Linked DNA regions of Homo sapiens: region 1 is linked to region 2. The links are contacts of gene promoters, found by promoter capture Hi-C in human tissues and cell types (Jung and others, 2019). All regions are on one chromosome and are shown on one strand. The core of a region is centred on a gene start or on the middle of the fragment in contact, and the rest is flanking DNA. Distances in the headings are between cores, read along the strand shown.

Evidence for each region. The method cuts DNA at HindIII sites, captures the fragments that hold promoters and counts their contacts. A contact is called where the count stands out against the background at its distance.
Region 1: a fragment that was not itself captured here is called in contact with the fragment with the promoter of ZP1 in region 2 in 1 of the 25 tissues and cell types used here (hippocampus).

What each region holds. Positions count from the first base shown.
Region 1 is chr11:61,327,338-61,332,723 of GRCh38, reverse strand. It overlaps DDB1 (damage specific DNA binding protein 1), which reads left to right. Exons shown (of 27, transcript NM_001923.5): 2 at 1,033-1,181; 3 at 2,650-2,766; 4 at 3,140-3,361. Among named protein-coding and RNA genes, the nearest start is that of DDB1, 3.1 kb to the left of the region's middle. RefSeq lists an enhancer at 1-57. The HindIII fragment of the contact is 5,328 bases long and covers 983-5,386 here.
Region 2 is chr11:60,864,321-60,869,582 of GRCh38, reverse strand. It overlaps ZP1 (zona pellucida glycoprotein 1), which reads right to left and starts at 2,041. Exons shown (of 12, transcript NM_207341.4): 1 at 1,826-2,041; 2 at 317-438; 3 at 1-46. The coding sequence starts at 2,021. RefSeq lists silencers at 5,089-5,262, 5,153-5,262. The HindIII fragment of the contact is 7,386 bases long and covers 526-5,262 here.

The sequences.
Region 1 (5,386 bases), core at 2,397-4,896, 460 kb before region 2:
GGGGTTGGAAGCCGCTCTCGAGGGTCCCCTTTCGTCCTGGGGAGGTCATTCGGCCTCGAGAACAGGGCGGGCCCAGTGAGACAGAGGAGTGTGAGTTGGTTGTGCGGTGTCGTTTGGGCCCGGAGATTGGCTTTCTGTGGCCAGGAAAAGGGGAGGTGGTAATGACGACTTTGGGGTCAAGATTTTCCTGTGGGGAAGTCTGGGGGGCCCAGGAGGTGGAGGGATGTGAGGAATGCCCGCATTATCCCACAGAGGGAGAGGAGCCCTCTTCAGGCTAACCCCTTTGCCTGGGGCTGTTGTTTACATGAGGGCCCTGCTGGAGAAGAGGGTTTGGTTTGCCTGGCCCAGTGCTGGGTTTGCCTTGTTGACGATGCGCTTGGATTGTTAAGGACACCGATGTTCAGAACCCGGGAAGAGTCATCTTAACCCACATTCTCAGCTGAATATGCAGACCCCAAGCTTGCATGTTTATATACACCCTAATCATGATTCCAAAACAAAACTGTTGTTCAGAGTTGGAGGTAGCTGAGTGTGGATGGAGGTATTGGTAGACTGCCAGGAGGGCAGGGGGTGTGGACAAAACAGTGTTTTCATATAAAGCTCTGGGACTTCTTCATTTGACTTGGTCTGTCAGATAAAAGTTTTGTGAGACTTTAGATGAAGACTGGAAGAAGTGAACACTTTCTCCGGCATTCTCAATTAGAGCCTGCCACTGTAACTGTAATAGAGTAAAATTGGAGGGGCAAGAGGCATGAGAAGGGATTACGCAGTCATTGTCATTTGGAGGACACACGGCTCTTAGGTCCAGTCCAGTTTTCTTAGTCTGATTAGGGAAGTAGCTTTGTTGAATGCATGAACTGAGACTCTTTGAGGTGCCGGATTTGGCAAGAAGGGGAGTAGCTGGAGGGAGTTGGAGAAGTATGTGAAGTAAATGAGAATTCTGGAGGTATTTAGACATAAGTGATAGGATTATTTTGAAGGGATGGGAGGCCCTTCCCCTGAGTTCAAAAGTTAGAGGGTCTGTTCTTTCAGGACACTTTACTTCGGCCGAAGACTTAAACCTGTTGATTGCCAAAAACACGAGATTAGAGATCTATGTGGTCACCGCCGAGGGGCTTCGGCCCGTCAAAGAGGTGGGCATGTATGGGAAGATTGCGGTCATGGAGCTTTTCAGGCCCAAGGTAAGTGTTGCAGTTGGGACAAGCAGTGGAGGGGGAACTGTTGGTCGTAGGTTGTTTTATGTTATTTTTGTTTGTTTATTTATTTTCTTTGAGACGGGGGTCTCACAGTGTTGCCCAGGATGTCTTGAACTCCTGAGCTCAAGCAATCCCTCCACTTTAGCCTCTGGAGTAGAGTAGCTGGGGTATTGTAGGCATGCCACCGTGCTTGGGCTGTGTTAGGTTGTTTTGCGAATTCTTGGGATGGGTGGAATATGCTTTAGGAGAAAAACTCTTCTCTTTTTTCTCTCTTTGGATAGCAAATTTCAGTATGTACTCTTGACCAAGCTTTCTAGAAGTAAAAGGAGAGATTCATTAGGGAAACATTTATGAAGTTGACTTCTTTAGAAGGGAGAAATTAAAGCAGTTTGTTTCAGAGGATAGGCTACAGAGTGGGGCAGTCCTGGCTTCATTTCTTGTTAATTCTGACTTTAGGTGCCACTTAAGGCACCTTTCAGATCAAATCCCCTGGGTTGTTGTGACGATGAAATGATTCAGTAACATAGGGCCTATCATATAGCAAGCATTTACAGTTATGTTAACAATTACCAGGCCGGGCATGGTGGCTCACGCCTGTAACCCCAGCACTTTGGGAGGCCGAGGTGGGTGGATCACGTGAGGTCAGGAGTTCGAGACCAGCCTGGCCAACATGGTGAAACCCCATCTCTACTAAAAATACAAAAGTTAGCCGGGTGTGGTGGCACGTGCCTGTAATCCCAGCTACTTGGCAGGCTGAGGCACAAGAATTGCTTGAACTCAGGAGGCGGAGGTTGCAGTGAGTGGAGATGGCGCCCATTGCCCGGTGACAGAGCGAGACTCCATCTCCAAAAAAAAAAACACCAAACAAAAAAAACAATTACCATCAGTATTTTCATTATTTTAGCGCAAATGTTTTCATCCAAATCACCACCACATTGCTTTATGTTGTCTTAACTGAATCTGGCAAGAAAGCAGTGGGTTCAAAATTTTAATTATAACCCTTTGAACAAAACAGCAATTTTTTGGAGTCTGTGTTAAATAAGTAGGACTTTGTTGATCCATTTTAGCTTCCGTTGTTATTCCCACATTTTTTTTCCTCTTTCTTCAAATACTTGGGGAGGAGTGGAGGAGGCATTACATTCATCTTTCAGAATTTGAATGGGATGATTGAGATTAGCTTGAGATTGAAATAGATGAAGACTTTGTTTGTAGAACAGAGAGATGGAGAATCATGAAAGTGAGAACTAGATGTTTACCAGCTTCAGTTCTGGCTTTTTGTACATGCCCTTAGGGTGTATGTGTACCTAGTGTGGGTTACAAGCTCACCATGTATTTTCTCTTTAGGGAGAGAAGAATTTGGAAAATTCTTAAAGAATTTGGTGTGCTTAAAGACTGGACAGGTTGTTCCTGTTTTAAAAAGAACCTCTTTTGATAGCATAATATTGGTTTCCAGGGGGAGAGCAAGGACCTGCTGTTTATCTTGACAGCGAAGTACAATGCCTGCATCCTGGAGTATAAACAGAGTGGCGAGAGCATTGACATCATTACGCGAGCCCATGGCAATGTCCAGGTGAGGTGGCTGCTTTAGGCCAATGAAAGTTTTCTAAGTAGGGCTGTCATGATTCATGGAAAAAATTAAAGTGCTGGGGGCAGCTCTCTATTCGATCAGAGAAATAAGGAGAAGACACTATGGGTTTGAGCTTTTTGGAGAAAGGACTCCTGTAGTTCACTCAAGACCCAAGGGACAGGGTAATAATTCATTGAGATTCAGTGTTTCATGAAAAAGGCATGCACTGACATTGGGGCTCCAACTATTTGGCCTATCAAATAGATCCATTAGTTTTAATACCTCTCCTAAAATTTTTCTGCACAAGTGGTGCCCAGCGTCCTCTGTTGCTCTGTGGATGTTGAGGTTCTTCCCTAATCCCGATTTTGTTTCTCAGGACCGCATTGGCCGCCCCTCAGAGACCGGCATTATTGGCATCATTGACCCTGAGTGCCGGATGATTGGCCTGCGTCTCTATGATGGCCTTTTCAAGGTTATTCCACTAGATCGCGATAATAAAGAACTCAAGGCCTTCAACATCCGCCTGGAGGAGCTGCATGTCATTGATGTCAAGTTCCTATATGGTTGCCAAGCACCTACTATTTGCTTTGTCTACCAGGTACTGGATCAGGAAGAGAGAGCGAGAAACTGTGAGGTTGATGTGATAGGAGTTGTTTTTGCTAACTGGCATGTCTGGGTTTGGTAGGATAGAGAGAAGTGTTTAATGTGTTTGTCCTGAAATGTTTTGAACAACACAATTAATATGGGTCAGACTTTCGTTGCTTCTTGAGTGCAGTAGTACTTATTGTGGAGGCAGCAAGCTCTCTGGGGCTTGTAGCAGGTTTTAATCCTGAGATTACACTCTGGTTGTGGGCCTTGGGAGATTTCATAGGATGACCCAGTTTATACTTTGATTCTCTTACTGGAGTGCTAGGGGATTATTAAAACTTAGTTGTCAAGAAATTATCTAGATCTTGCCTTTATATTAAGCAAAGAGAAATTGTCTTGGTGATGCCTTATATGTGTTTTTTAAGAAGAGGTTTACATTTTGTCCAGTAATCACTTACTGGTGACTTGCTGGCTTATTTTAATTTTATTTTATTATTTTTTTTGAGACAGAGTCTCACTCTGTTGCCCAGGCCGGAGTGCGATGGCCTGATCTTGGCTCACTGCAACCTCCGCCTCCTGGTTCAAGCGATTCTCCTGCCTCAGCCTCCTGAGTAGCTGGAATTACAGGTGCATGCCACCACGCCCAGCTAATTTTTGTATTTTTAGTAGAGACGTGGTTTCACCATGTTGGCCAGAATCGTCTCAAACTCATGACCTCATGATCCGCCTGCCTCGGCCTCCCAAAGTGCTGAGATTTCAGACGTGAGCCACCGTGCTCGGCAACTTGCTGGCTCTTAACTTCTATTTTAGTCTGCCTAAAACTGTAGCAGAGCTGATCCTGGGCAGCTGTTCTCTGGTCCAGATCTGTTAAGCGGGGGTGGGGTGGTAGAGCACCAGACTAACATGCCAGTATCTTGGTAAAATCTCAGCCCTTTAACAAAGGGCCATGCAGCATAAGATCATTTCATTTGCATGTGGCTGAATAAGTGATGGAAGGAAATGATAGTCCAGTTCCACATAGAGTGTGTTGGCACATAAACAGTTTGATAGCCTTGTTATATGTTGGAGGTGCTGATATATTTTTGTATATTTCTTAGTGTTACTGTAGTTCTGAAGCTATTGGAATAAGACCCAATTGAATAAGGTTGAAACCAGGAGATTTTGTTTGATCTTACTTAGTATGAGTTAAAATAAAAACTTAGAATTTCTCTATGTTCTTTAGTTTTGTAATATTAGGTCATTAAAACTTTGATGTTGTTGATTATTCAAGGCTGGTTGTTCTAAGCTTCAGGGCTGCCAGCTGTGATCAGATCTTCATTTCTGCATGTGTGTCTCAGAGGCCCAAATCCACACTTGAACTTTTTGCAAAGTTGTGTCATAACCCTACTCATTGATGGGAAAATGTTTTCATCAGCCAAAAATTACTATCTTCTGTTTTATGCCAGAAATTCAATTTGACAAATATTTAGGTACTTAGTGCTATGTGAAAGGTATTCATGCTTCAGGAGCTGTAACAGTGACTAAGATGTGATCCCTGCCCTGAAACACATTGCTGAATTCCTTCCATAACTTCTTTGTTGAAGCTGTCTTCCACTGGCTGAGTGTAGCTTTCTTCTGGTCCCTGCTTTTTAGCATCTTAAAGGTGACCTTGGCAGTCCCAGGACTGACATGAGTCATAATTCAGAAAAAGGAGGGGAAGATGATGTTGACAATGGCAGGACTGAAAGTTTTGACAACTTTAGCGGAGCAATCAATTGTGTTCTCTCTACCATTATTCCATCAGAATGCTTTTAAGAATTGTATCAATTTAAAAAAAATCTCATAGGTGTAGCTTATCAGTGCGTGTTTCACTTAGCTGTTTTGTAAGTTTCTCGAGGCTAAGGAACACACACAGGCACACACACTGTATCTCTTTTTTTTTTTTTTCTGAGATGGAGTCTTGCTCGGTCGCCCAGGCTGGAGCTCAACCTTCGCCTCCTGGGTTCAAGTGATTCTCCTGCCTCAGCCTCCCGAGTAGCTGGGACTGTAGGCACGC
Region 2 (5,262 bases), core at 792-3,291:
TGGGCAGCACAGCCTCCATGAACACCCTCAGGTGGAAACGCCCATCCTGCAGGTGAGAGGCCATCATAGAGCAGCAAGGTGAGGCCACCTAGCATACCCAGGCAGGGGACGGGCCCACGAGAGCTGAGCTGGCCATTAGGCAGGGAGCTGGATTCATGGTGGATTCCAGAAAGTACCTTCCAGAGCTTAGTTTCCCTCACCCACCAGCTCAACAGATCTTCGGCTTTGGCTCCTTTCTGGTTCATGAGGGGCCTCTTCAGCCTGACATGACACTAGGACAAGCTTGCCCCTGTGCCAGAGCATGAACAACCCCTACCTTCTCCAGCACGTGGCAGCCTCTGTAATCGGCCGAGAAGACTGCAGGCTCCTGCGGCCTGGAGGTGACCCAGTGGTAGCAGATGGAGCAGTTGTTGACATCAAATCGGTTCCCAAATTCATCTGCAGTGGGGGAAGGGGAGGGGCCAGGGATGTTGAAGGGTGCAGGGAGAGGTTGCTGGGGTCTCGGAAGGAGTTCCCACTCAGCAGCCAGGAGACCTGGGTTCTTGCCTTAGCTTTGCTATTAGTTTGTTGTGTGGTCTTGGGCAAGCCCCCTCCCCTCTCTGCTCTCAGTTTCCACAGCTGTAAGGGGATGGGAGGGTCTTAGGATCTTTCTAGCTAGGGTTCCCTGCTCACAGCACACGGCAGCAGGCAGGCACGAAGATGAGGTGGAGAAGGGATACACAGGGTCTCAGGCACTGGCCTGAGTATTTCACATCACTTCTTTTAAGCTTAGTTATCCACATCCTGTGGCTGAGGCAGCTGAGGAAGGGAGGGTGCGTGAGCTTTCTTAGGTGCACACAATGAGGGGCAGAATGAGGATTTGAATCCTGGGCTTTGTAGAAAGATCTGAACCCATTTCCCAGGTTAACTGTGGCTGCTGCAGTTGCTTGGAGACACCCCCTAGGTGTCCACCCTGCTTGTTGCCCCAGAACAGCCTGGGCATTCCCTGGGTGTGGGCATGTCCCCATGCCCTTGTTCCATGAGCACGGCCAGGTTCATCTTCCCCACCTTGCAGATGAGGAAACAGAGGCTTATGAGTCAGGTCAGTTGTCCAAAATCATCCCGTTTAGAAGCTGCAGATCCAAACCCCAGTTCTAAACCCACACCAGGCCACGCCTACTAGGTCCTGCTGCTGGAAGTGGTTTATGGACCCTCAGCCTCAGTTTTGACTGAGCGTGGTTAGAGATGCAGAGCCTAGGCTGGGTGCAGTGGCTCACGCCTATAACCCCAGCACTTTGGGAGGCTGAGGCAGGTGGATCACCTGAGGTCAGGAGTTCGAGACCAGCCTGACCAATATCGTGAAACTCCATCTCTACTAAAAATACAAAAAGTAGCTGGGCGTGGTGGCACACACCTGTAGTCCCAGCTACTAAGAGGCTGAGGCAGGAGAATTGCTTGAACCTGGGTGGTGGAGGTTGCAGTGAGCTGAGATCGTGCCAACTGCACTCAAGCCTGGAGAACAGATTGAAAGAAGTGAGACTGTCTCAGAAAAAAAAAAAAAAAAGAAAAGAAATGCAGAGGCTTGGCCCTGCCCCAGGTCCACTGAATCAGAACCTGCACCTCAACAAGGTGGCCAGGTGTTTCCCATGCACACTAACGTGGGAGAAGCTGCCCTGGGTGATGATTCTCCTCCTTGCCCTTTTCTGTGGTGAGGGGGTGGGGGGCTGGACACCCCCAGGCTGGAGGGAGGCCTCTGTTCTTGCTCCTTCAGGGGAAGGGTCCCAGCTCCCTTCTGGCAGCAGCCCGTGGCCAGGGAGGCAGGGGCCAGGACTCTGCCAGCACTCACCCACCACCTTGAAGCGGAGAGTCTGGCCTGGCCTGGGGAACACCAGCAGCTGCATTCCCTTGATCCCACAGTCGTAGCTGTGCCGGAGGCCTGGGAGGCCAGGGTCGGGCTGGAGCCACCTACCCAGCCCCAGGGTGGCAACCAGCAGTAGCAGGGCCACAGGGTAACCCCAGGTCGTGGCTGAGCCTCCTGCCATGAGACGCCACAGACACACCCCCTACTCCCTCGCCACCAGAGCTGGGCCCAGGCCTTTTATGGAGGAGGTGGCAAGTGGGTGCCTGTAAGGGCAAAGGGGGCCCACCTGGAGGAGCACCCACCTGGCCACCAGGGGCTGTGGTGAAACTCCTGTTCCAAAGGCAGCGGGAGGCAGAAAGCTGCACGTGGCCCCTCACCCTGGCTTTCTGTCTCACAGCTGTGGCTTTGGAAGGGAGGAGGGAGCTTTCCAGAAAACTGAGGTTGCAGATGGGCTGTGGGAAGGGATCCAGGGCTAGGAGGTGGCACTGCAGACCTCAGGCCCTCCACTGTCTCCCTCTCACCCCAGCCTTTCTGCATTCCCTTCCTGCCCCAACAGGCTCTCCAGGTCCTCCTTCCTGCCTTGAGGCCTCAGGACCACTGGGAGCTGCCGGCCTGGTTAGTACAGTCACAGCTCCTCAGGCAGGGCTTTAGGGGCATTAGAGCAAGACCAGGAAGACACAGCCCTCAGAGCTGGCAGCGGAATGGGGACTGCAGGTGAGTAAACAGACCAGTAGCACCTCCAAGGGCTCTCCTGAGGATTCAGCCGGTCAGTATGATGATGACTATGACTAATAAAAAATAACAAGGACAACTAAATGTAATGTGGCATCTGGATGGGATCGTGGAACAGAAAAAGGCAGTAAAAGTGAAGAAAGTGGATTTTAGTTAATAATAATGTGTCCACATTTGTTTGTTCATTAATTGTAATAAATGTATCATACTCAAGTAAGATCAGTTATGGGGTAAACTGGGCCTGCGGTGTATGGGAACTGTCTGTACTATCTTCTCAGTTCTGTAAATCTAGAACAGTTCTAAGACATAAAAGTGGCTGGAAACAACAAGAATGGCCTGTGGTCTGCCATGATTACAGTGCCAGGTCTTGCTTGTGTTAGATCCTTATACCGCCTGACCATCCTCTGAGGAAGGGACTGTCACCAGCCCCACGTCCTGGCACTAATTCCTGCAAGTGATTAGCCTAGGGCCCAGCAGCGTTTGAGCTCAGCAAACATTAGAAAATGCAGCTATTATAATTAGCAGCTGCTGGAAGGGGAGAGCAAGAGGCTTGATAGCTAAGAGCCCGGTTCTGGTGAGGTTGCAGAGAAAAAGGAATGCTTATACGCTCTTGGTGGGGGTGTAAATTGGTTTGACCACTGTGGGAGTGTGGTGATTCCTCAAAGAGCTGAAAACAGAACTATCATTTGATGCAGAAATCGCATTACTGGGTATATATCCAAAGGAATATAAATTGTTCTATCATAAAGACACTGAACCTGCGTGCATATGTTCAGTGCAGCATGATTCACAATAGCCAAGACATGGAATCAAATGCCCATCAATGGTAGACTCAATAAAGAAAATCTGGTACATGCTGAGCACGGTGGCTCACGCCTGTAATCCCAGCACTTTGGGAGGCCGAGGCGGGCGGATCACGAGGTCAGGAGATCGAGACCATCCTGGCTAACATGGTGAAACCCTGTCTCTACTAAAAATACAAAAATTAGCTGGGTGTGGTGGCACGCACCTGTAGTCCCAGCTACTCAGGAGGCTGAGGCAGGAGAATCGCTTGAACCCAGGAGACGGAGGTTGCAGTGAGCCGAGATTGTGCTGTTGCACTCCAGCCTGGCCGACAGAGTGAGACTCTGTCTCAAAAAAAAAAAAAAAAAAAGAAAAAGAAAAAAAAAAAAGGAAAATGTGGTACACATACACCATGGAATACTATGCAGCCATAAAAAAGAATGAGATCACATCTCTTGCAAGAACATGGATGGAGCTGGAGGATATTATCCTTAGCAAACAAATGCAGGAACAGAAACCAATACCACATGTTCTCACTTATAACTGAAGGCTAAATGATGACAACATATGGACACATAGAGGGGAATGGCACACACTGGGGCCTATTGAAGGGTAGAGGGTAAGAGGAAGGAGAAGGGTGGAAATAATAACTATTGGGTGCTAGGCTTAGTATCTGGGTGATGAAATAATCTGTACAACAATCCCTCTGGACATGCATTTACCTATATAACAAACCTGCATAAGTAACCCTGAACCTAAAATAAAAGTTTAAACAAAAAAAGTTGGTTCTAATGGTGCCCCAACCACTTTCTTAGCTGTGACTCAGATGCATTATCTATTCTGAGCCTCAGGTTTCCTGTTTGTAAACTGGGGGTGATAATGCTTTCCTTGCCCACATGGTGGATAGGAAGACACAAAGAGACAAGTCATGGGTACCAGGTGCAGTAATGATTTAATGCTTGGCAATAATTCACTTCTACTGTGATTAAAGCTCAGCTGGGAAAGCTTGGTGGGGCGGGGTGGGAGTCCCTCTGGGGGCACAGTGGGAAGAGGCACCCAACACAGCATCGAGGATGGGCGACATGGAAGTGTTTTTGGAGGAAAGGGGTCCTGAGCAGAGGTGGGAGGAGGCGGGGAGGACAGGGATGGTGCAATGGGGATCTGGGGAGAGCAGAGCTGGAGGAGGAGGGAGGAAGCAGGTCACACAAAGGTCCAGGACAAGGACTCCAGGCAGGCTGAGGGTGCTGGCGAGGGAAGGACTAGGAGGGGAAGGAGAGGAGCCAGGCAGGAGCGGGGAGTGGGGTGGATTTTCCCTGAGGGACGATGTGGAAGTTTTAAACTTTTAATTTTGAAATTATTTCAGATTTGCAGAATTTCCATATAGCCTCCTCCAGATTCCTCAGATGTTCACTGTTCACTTTTTACATTTGCTGTAGCTCCCGCTTTCTCTCTCTGCATGTGTGCAGACATACACGCACGCACACGCACACACGCACACATTCTTCCATATCATTCAAGAGTCAGTTGCAGAAATGACAGATTCCCCTTTACCTCTAATTGCTTCAGTATACATTTCCTAAAAAAACAAATCACCCCTACAGTCAAATGATCAAAATCAGGAAACCAACAATGGTATAAACACAACGATCTAATCTGCAGACATTATTGTAAGAAATAAAGAGGAAAGCAACATGAAAGGGCGGTTCAACAGGCAACAGGGACAGGTTTATGTTGAGTAAACCTGAGAGGGGCGGCTGGCCGAGTTAGGTCAGAGCCCCACTCTCTTACAGATTAAGAGTTAAGGATTCAGGGCGGGGGAGTTTATCAGAGGCTTGGACTGCTCCTGTGTCTCTTTGCTGTGCGTATCTGGGAGGGAGAGTTGTGTGTCTGTTCCCATATATCTTTCT